Regions from separate parts of the Homo sapiens genome. Here regions 1 and 3 are each linked to region 2. The links are contacts of gene promoters, found by promoter capture Hi-C in human tissues and cell types (Jung and others, 2019). All regions are on one chromosome and are shown on one strand. Each heading gives the region's core, a stretch centred on a gene start or on the middle of the fragment in contact. The rest is flanking DNA. Distances are from core to core; before and after follow the strand shown.

The links. Contacts are between HindIII fragments. The study calls those that stand out against the background at their distance.
Region 1: a contact is called between a fragment that was not itself captured here and the fragment with the promoter of CGNL1 in region 2, in 3 of the 25 tissues and cell types used here (liver, neural progenitor cells and thymus).
Region 3: a fragment that was not itself captured here is called in contact with the fragment with the promoter of CGNL1 in region 2 in 8 of the 25 tissues and cell types used here (aorta, bladder, hippocampus and 5 more).

Annotation. Positions count from the first base shown.
Region 1 is chr15:57,410,505-57,413,287 of GRCh38, forward strand. All of the region lies in intron 1 of CGNL1 (cingulin like 1), which reads left to right. Among named protein-coding and RNA genes, the nearest start is that of CGNL1, 35 kb to the left of the region's middle. The HindIII fragment of the contact is 7,628 bases long and covers 1-2,783 here.
Region 2 is chr15:57,375,221-57,377,920 of GRCh38, forward strand. CGNL1 (cingulin like 1) reads left to right here and starts at 1,285. Exons shown (of 19, transcript NM_032866.5): 1 at 1,285-1,347. The HindIII fragment of the contact is 14,520 bases long and covers 1-2,700 here.
Region 3 is chr15:57,429,547-57,432,246 of GRCh38, forward strand. All of the region lies in intron 1 of CGNL1 (cingulin like 1), which reads left to right. Among named protein-coding and RNA genes, the nearest start is that of CGNL1, 54 kb to the left of the region's middle. The HindIII fragment of the contact is 4,332 bases long and covers 1-2,700 here.

The DNA.
Region 1 (2,783 bases), core at 109-2,608, 35 kb after region 2:
TGGGAGAGTGTTCTGGAAGCTTTCCCATCACCACCTCTCTCTTTCTAGGCAGGCATTTTGGCTGTGTCTGTGTGGTCCCAACATGTGTACGTGTGTGTAGCAGGGAGGGAGGAGTGAGTATGAAGAGGTCCAATAACAACAATTGAGAAAGATAAAATAAATTCTTTCCACAATATCGGAGGCTATATTATCTGCTAAACTAGTTTTTCAAAATGCTAAACTTTTGCCTCTTAATTTTCTCATGCTTATGAGGAGTGCCCTTCAAATCTTGTATTAGTCAGGATGTAATTGTATCGCTTTAGCTTCTTTTCTCTCTTGCTAAAAAAATAAAATGCAATCCTTAATAAGAGACTGAAGTTCGTAACGTTTGTGTCTTGTCAGATTCAGTGGGGAAAAATCAGATTTGCTTGAAAACAAGATGATAAATATGTGGTGTTGGTGTTTTCATACAAGAATCTAAAGATAAGCTGTAACAGCTTAGAGAACATAATTGTTACTGTACCACAAAGACCAAGTTTTTTAAAAAATAACTTTTGAAGGTCTTACTAAAATTTATCACATTTATACCATGTTGGATGGTGATATTGGCCATGTTTTCTTAATATCAAAATATGACTAAAGAGTGTCATATGTTGGACTCCATCCACAGACACAGAGACTTTTCTGACATGAGCCGGTCTCTGAGTCTTCCTTTTTAGAATACGAGCTTATTTTCTCCAGAATCATCACAGCTGTCTAGAGCCTTCCTGTTCCTCCTTTCTTGGAGTCACTGCTGGCTTCATATTTGTTCACTTGGACGTTCTCTTGTATACCAACTGTGATCTCTCTGGGGAGTCAAAACCAGATCTGGTTTTCCTTGTCCTCAGGGAACTTGCAGTTTAGCTGTTCTGATATTTGTGCCATGCACTGTCCAGATGCCACTAGTTTTCTTTTTTTCTTTTTCTTTTTTTTTTTTTTGAGACAGAGCCTTGCTCTGTCACCCAGGCTGGAGTGCAATGGCGCAATCTCAGCTCACTGCAACCTCCACCTACCAGGTTCAAGCAATTCTCATGCTTCACCCTCCCAAGTATCTGGGATTACAGGTGTCCGCCACCATGCCAGGCTAATTTTTTGTATTTTTGGTAGAGATGAGGTTTCACCATTTTGGCCAGGCTGGTCTCCAACTCTTGACTTCAGGTGATCCACCCACCTCAGCCTCCCAAAGTGCTGGGATTACAGCATGAGCCACCGCACCTGGCCCAGATCTCACTAGTTTTTTTTTTTTCTTCCCCAATTCTCTTTTGATGTGGATAATTCCACTGGCCTTTGGCTCAGCTGCTGTATAGAGCTTCTTAATATCTTAAAAAACCTCACTGAGAGCCTTGGTGCTGTCTTCCACCCCTTTCCTAGTCCTGGAAGTTTACTTATTTTAAACAAGAGCATCAAATGCTTCTTGGAAAATTCCATCAGCGCTCATATTTTCTGTGTTTGCTGTCGATTATCTAGCATTCAAAGCCCCGCTAACGTTCAGAGCTTCTTGTTGTGTGACATTCGCAGGTTTCCTTTTGGGACAGGTTTGGATTGACTTCCTTCCTCTGCCAAGAGGGCAACCAGCTGATGACAGTTTGGAGAGTTTGTGTTGGCATCAGACGGGTGCTGGTGATGTGCCTGAAAGTCACTCCTGAGATTCTCGTTTATTTCTGTCCCAGGCTGGAGTTTCACAGGCAGTGGATGTTAGTGGGTGGCCCGAACCACCCTCATCCTAGCTGTAGACAGAGGCAGCTTCACTCAGCAGGGAGCCTTTTATCCTCAAGACCTTTTCTGTACAGATAAAACGCTCAGATAAGATCTGGAGAAAACCCTTTGTTCTTTGGTGGCTCTGCATCCTCTTTTCTCTTAAATGCTGTTCCTTACTCTGCTCTCCTCTGGCCTCTTTGGTGTGATTATCTTGATGTTCTCTGTATCTGTTAAGGGATGATTGTTGTCTGAGTAAATATGAGATGGCATCTTTGATTATCACATTTCCCAGGAACCTGGCTGATGCGGGACTCCTTTCTCAAACCTGCTTGTGAATGGATAGCCAGGCCCTGTTTGCCTTCCTCCACCTCATGGGGAACTCATTGTCTCCTGAAACAGCCTAGTTTATCTTGACGCATCTCTGTGAGAAAGCTCATTTCCCCCTTTCGATTGAAGTGGAGTTTGTGTCCCTGGCACATCTACTCTTTATTGGTTGTTCTAACCTTTGGAGCCACACAGACCAAGTTTAATCTTCTTTTCACATGACAACCATTCTGGTATTCATATGTGATGAGAGTTGATCATGCTTCCAGCTCTACTCCCCTCCTTCTGTACCCAGTGCCATCTCTTAGTATCTCAGTTTCTTTTTTTTTCTTTTTGAGACGGAATCTCACTGTCACCCAGGCTGGAGTACAGTGGCGCGATCTCGGCTCACTGCAACTTCTGCCTCCTGGGTTCAAGGGATTTCTCCTGCCTCAGCCTCCTGAGTAGCTGGGATGACAGGTGCGTGCCACCATGCCCGACTAATTTTTGTAGTTTTAGTAGAGATGGGGTTTCACCATGTTGGCCAGGCTGGTCTTGAACTCCTGACCCCGTGATCCACTCACCTTGGCCTCCCAAAGTGCTGGGATTAGGGCGTGAGCCACCACACCCGGCCTTCTTCTCCTTCTTTCTTTCTTTCTTTCTCTCTTTCTCTTTCTCTCTTTCTCTCTTCCTCTCTTCCTCCCTCCCTCCCTCCCTCCCTTCTTCCCTCCCTCCATTCCTCCTTCCCTCCTTCCTTCCTTCCT
Region 2 (2,700 bases), core at 35-2,534:
TCACTATTATTAGGTCGGAGCAAAAGTAACTGTGGCTTTTCCCATTGAAAGTAATAGCAAAACTGCAATTACTTTTGCACCAACCTATTACTTTTTCAAGTCCTTTTATATTGTTTTGAATTGTTAAGTTTTCAAGGGTCTATTTCATTCAATATGTCAGCAAACATGTATTAAGTACAGGTTGGGCAGGGCGCAGTGGCTCACATCTGTAATCCCAGCACTTTGGGAGGCCGAGGCGGGTAGATTACTTAAGGTCAGGAGTTCGAGACCAGCCTGACCAACGTGGTGAAACCCCGTCTCTACTAAAAACACAAAAATTAGCCGCGCGTAGTGGTGGCCACCTGTAGTCCCAGCTACTCGGGAGGCTGAGGCACGAGAATCGCTTGAACCCGGGAGGCAGAGGCAATGAGCCGAGATCGCGCTACTGCACTCCAGCCTGGGCAAAACAGCAAGACTCCATCTCCAAAAAAAAAAAAAAAAAAAAAAAGTACAGGTTGTTGTTTTCTCAGGGAATCCTCATAGCTGGTGAAGTATCCAGCTTTTCATTTTACGGATGAGTGAACTGGGGTTTAGAACTGATAACATTTTGCCCAAGTTCTCACAGCTAGCGAGAGGCGTGCCGCAGTTTATCGTGGGGTGGGTCTAAACAAGGACCTAAAAACTGTATTCGAATCCCAGCCCTACTACCGCCAGCTGTGTGACCTTACGAGGCGCCTCACTTTACTGTTTCTCCAACAGAGACAGACATTTCTTGTTACCGCGCAAGTGGGATAACCTCCCCACCAGTGTCTAGACACAGTAGGTGCTCAATAAATAGGTGTGGGTTTGCGGTGGCAGAAGAGCGCTATCCCTTAAGTTTCTGACAGTGAGGGGGAAAAAGGCTAAGCAGGGAAAGGAAGGGAAAGGGGTAAACTGAGCTCGGCGCAGTCGAGAGCGCGAAATAGGGAGGGCTTCCTGCAGGCCAGGAATTTGGAGAGGCCGAGGCTGGGAGAAGAAAAATGCCCGGTGACGGCGGAGGGGAGGTGGAAGGACGAACGGCTCCGGGAAGGGGTGAGGTCTAAGCGCAGCCCCGGGCCCAGCGGAGCCGAGGGCGGGTGGTGCGGGGGTTCCTGGGTAGGTTCGTCCCGACGGGCCGCGGGCGGATTGAAGGGAGGGTTGGGCCCGCCGGCAGCCCCGGCGGGTCCAGGCCCCCGGCCAGCCCCTGCCCCTCCTCCCAGGAGGGCGGGCGGCGACTGCGGGGCGGGGCGCGGGCTCGCTCGGCCTCCCGGCGGCGCCGCGGCCCTTGCACTCCGGCCGGGCTCTGCTGGCTGCGGCGGGAGCTGGACGCGGGAGGAGGCGGCGGCGGCGGTGAGTGAGCTCCGGGCTGGAGCGGGGCGGGGTGTGCGCCGGCAGCCGGGTTTCGGGGTGCTAGGGGCCGCCCAGGGCGGCGGGACCCCCAGGGGTTCGGGCTCAGCCAGGTGCACTGTGCTCAGTCCGCGCGTCCACTCTCGGTGACCCGCGCCGCGCGTGTCCTGGGGCTCGAAGATGCGACCCGGACTCCCGCGCCGCGCCCCGCCGAGGGCAGGCGCAGAACAGATGCGGGCGATCCCTGGGGAACCCGCTTCGGGGCGGGGTGGGAGGGAGGAGGCCCTGCAGAACCTCCCTTTAGTGAAGAGGGACTTTCTGCCTTCGCACCCCTGCCTGGACCCTCCGGCTCTAGTGACAGCTGGGAGAGACTCACACGAAGCAGTTTCTGACCTATCCTGTCGTACACAAGTCCTCGGCGTGCTCGGCCGGACCATCCCCTGGAAAGAAAGGGGCGTGTGACCTTTCTCTCCCCGATCCTCCAGACCACTGCGCCGCCCAGGGAGGTCATCCCCGAGAGAGCCCCCGCCTCACTCGGAGCACACATTCTAGCTCTCCCCGGGACTTTTCCAAGTTGCATCACTGTTTGGCCTCTAGACAGGTACTTGGCTGTCATGTTGGAGTTAGTTACACAGGATTTTTGAAACTTTGTATATTTGCTTTGTGTGTTCTTCACCCTAAGGCCGCTGCCCTCCCGACTCTGCTTATGCCGCTCAAAACGTTGCTCAAAGCTCGCTGGGAATGCTTTTGCGGGCATTGGTTCTCAAACTTGGCCCCACATCTGGAGAGTTTTAAAAAATACTGGTGCCTGTGTCCCACTCCCAGAGATCTGGATTCGGCTTGCCTGGGTTGCAGCCTGGACAATGGAATTTTTAAGACGCCGCAGGTGATTCTAATGTGCAGGCAAGTTTGAAAACCTCTGCTTTGAGAGTTGCTCCCACCAGCCACTCTTCGGACGGCTCAAGATCAGTCCTGATCTAGAACTCATCTCAGGTCCTCATAGCTCTTCCCTAATCCACCTCTCCACCTGAAGAACCTGTTGATTGGTGCTTTCCAACTTTAGACAGTAGATGGTGCCTTTACTGAAGATCCCTTTGTTTCTACCTCTCTGTTTACAGTCAATACTGCCAGGGCACTTTCTGCCAAGGAGGTGGGAGTGTAGGCATTAGAACCGAGCAGTCCTTGTCAGGGTCAAGGTTATAATACAGGGTTGTCCTATTCAGGGAAAACCAAGTGATAATTTGACTTGTCATATTCGGGAATGATTTCAGATTAAAAGGAGAAAAAATACTTTAGGGTTTGGTCAGCTTTTGGAGACCCTCCGGAGACTCCCCCACGTAGATAATGGAGTTGCAT
Region 3 (2,700 bases), core at 166-2,665, 54 kb after region 2:
ATGTACATGACAGTATGAAGATGTTCATTTATTCACCCAACAAATATTTATTAAATCTCCGCTATGGACATAGCATTGTACTTTAGATTCTTAGCCCTCTGGCTTCTTCATTAGTTAATAAATTATTTCAGGATATTGGTGGTTAATGCTGCTTGGTTAATTAGTGGGGGTTTTTAGTCTTTTTCTCATAAGTGTTTCAAAACATTTTATGAACAAAGCCAGCTTTCTTGTGCCCATAAATGCTACATTGAAATCTTTCTCAGATCCCTCTTATTTTTTGAGACAGGGTCTCTCAGTCTATCACCCAGGCTGGCATGGGGTGGCATGATCATAGCTCCCTGCAGCCTTGACCTCTCTGGGCTCAGCTGATCCTCCTATCTCAGCCGCCTGAGTAGCTGGGACTACAGGTGCGCACCACCACACTCAGCTAATTTTTGTATTTTTCATAGAGATGGGGTCTCCCTGTGTTGCCCAGGCTGGTCTGAGACTCTTGGGCTCAAGTGACCCACCTGCCTCAGCCTCCCAAAGTGCTGGGGTGACTGGCGTGAGCCACTGCCCGGCTGATCTTCGTCATTTCATTTAGCATACAATATGTGATTTTCCTAATTACTTTATGAAGTCATCACTGACAGTCTGACTTTAGAGACAGGAAAACAGAGAAATTAAAGAACTTCTCCAGAGCCAATATTGGACTTGAGCCGCATGTCAGAAATATTTCCTGCTTCTGCATCTCGGAGTCAGGTGCCATTACTTGTCTTCAGAACCTTAAACTTTCGTAGCTTAGCTCTGCCCTGGTAGGAGAAACTTTCAGAAATCATTTTAAGCCTCAAGAGGTGAAAAGGATGAATGACTTATCTAACACTTTTTTTGGGACATGAATTCTGTATTTTTTTCAGTAACCATGAAGAATATAAAATACGAACCACTGAATTTATTAAAGTAATACAAATTAAAAAGTAAAAGTTAAATTGATAACATATGGACACCGTAAATTAAGTGGTGATATATGTGCTAATCAGTTAAGAGAAGTGGGCAAGGGAAGTGGGACCCATCCACAGGGAAACGAGGCGGGTAGACTTCCAGGGGGAAGTGGGGGCTTCTTGGGGGAGAGCCACTTGGTGCCCATGCTCTCAGGGCCAGGCCATGTGGATCAGATGAGTTGAGTCCCAGTGACTCCACATTTTCTTTTTTGAGATGGAGTCTCACTCTGTTGCCCAGGCTGGAGTGCAGTGGTGCAATCTTGGCTCACTGCAACCTCCACCCCCAGGGTTCAAGTGATTCTCCCTGCCTCAGCCTCCCAAGTAGCTGGGATTATAGGTGACCGCCACCATGGCCGGCTCATGTTTTATATTTTTAGTAAAGATGGGATTTTGCTATGTTGGCCAGGCTGGTATCGAATTCCTGGCCGCAGGTGATCAACCTGCCTCAGCCTCCCAAAGTGCTGGGATTACAGGCGTGAGCCAGTGCGCCTGGCCAACTCCAGATTTTCAGACTCCTGGTTGATTCTCCTAGGTCTCCAACCCTAGTAAAAGGAGCCTTTTTACAGGCTTTTCTTTTTTGCCATCTTCCTTTTTGTACAAGGTGGGTTTAGGGGGAAGCTGTAGCACTCAATGTTATAAGTTTATTTTTTCCCCCCAAATAGAAAAGTTTTAGTTGTCAGGTTCATTTGAAGACATTCGAACCATCCTGAACTGTGTGAAACAGAGAGCAACTCTGCTTTCATTTCCAAACCTCAAGTTTATTTTTGAAATTGTTTTCCCAGGGAGTTCTGAAGGGTTGACTGTATACAAAGACACTTCCTTTAAAATCTGAAGAGTTTGGTCAGTTTCCTACATTTGCACTACAAAACACGTAGAGAGAAAACATAAAGCTCAGTTTAGGTAAGGCTGCCTCTTTCTGTCATGTTAGGGAATACATTGAAACTAATATGTGTTTTGCTAATCTTGGCTTTCCACACCCTGATCTTTCAATTTCATCTGGTTGAGGTTCTAGTGTGAATATCCCCATACAAAATTCTGTCTTCCCACTAGTTCCACAGACACATCCTTTAGGAGTAAATGTGTTAACCACTGTTTAGCAAGCTTGTCCAACCTGCGGCCCGTGGGCTGCCTGTGGCCCAGGATGGCTTTGAATGCGCCCAAAGCAAATTCGTAAACATTCTTAAAACATTTTGAGTTTTTTTTGTAATTTTTTTTTTAAACCTCATCAGCTATCATTAGTGTTAGTGCATTTTATGTGTGGCCCAAGACAATTGGTCTTCTTCCAATGTGGCCCAGGGAAGCCAAAAGATTGGCCACCCCGGATTTAGAGGTTTTAGCTCATGTTTATCATCAGCCTGGTAGTATCTTCTCTTTAAATGAGGCAGTCACAGGATCCCACTCAGGGGAAATTACTTTTTGGTTGGTGGGTCAATTCTTATTTCCTAGAATTAAGCTCAAGACTGCACTGAGACTCATCACCTCTCTACCCACTGTATTAGATGCTCTTTTAAGTGATTTGTATGGTAAAATAGAATTACTTGTTCAAAGCAAACATACCTAGAGTCTCTGCCCCATGCTAGGTACTATGCCGATTGCTTGGGCCAGCCTGGCTTGACTGATGGGGACTCTTGTCCTTGGAGGCAAGGGCCAGCCACAGCATAAAGGTGAAGGTTTCAGATTGCCTGGTTGCATTTCCTCCGTAGCCACAGGGCCCCTGGAA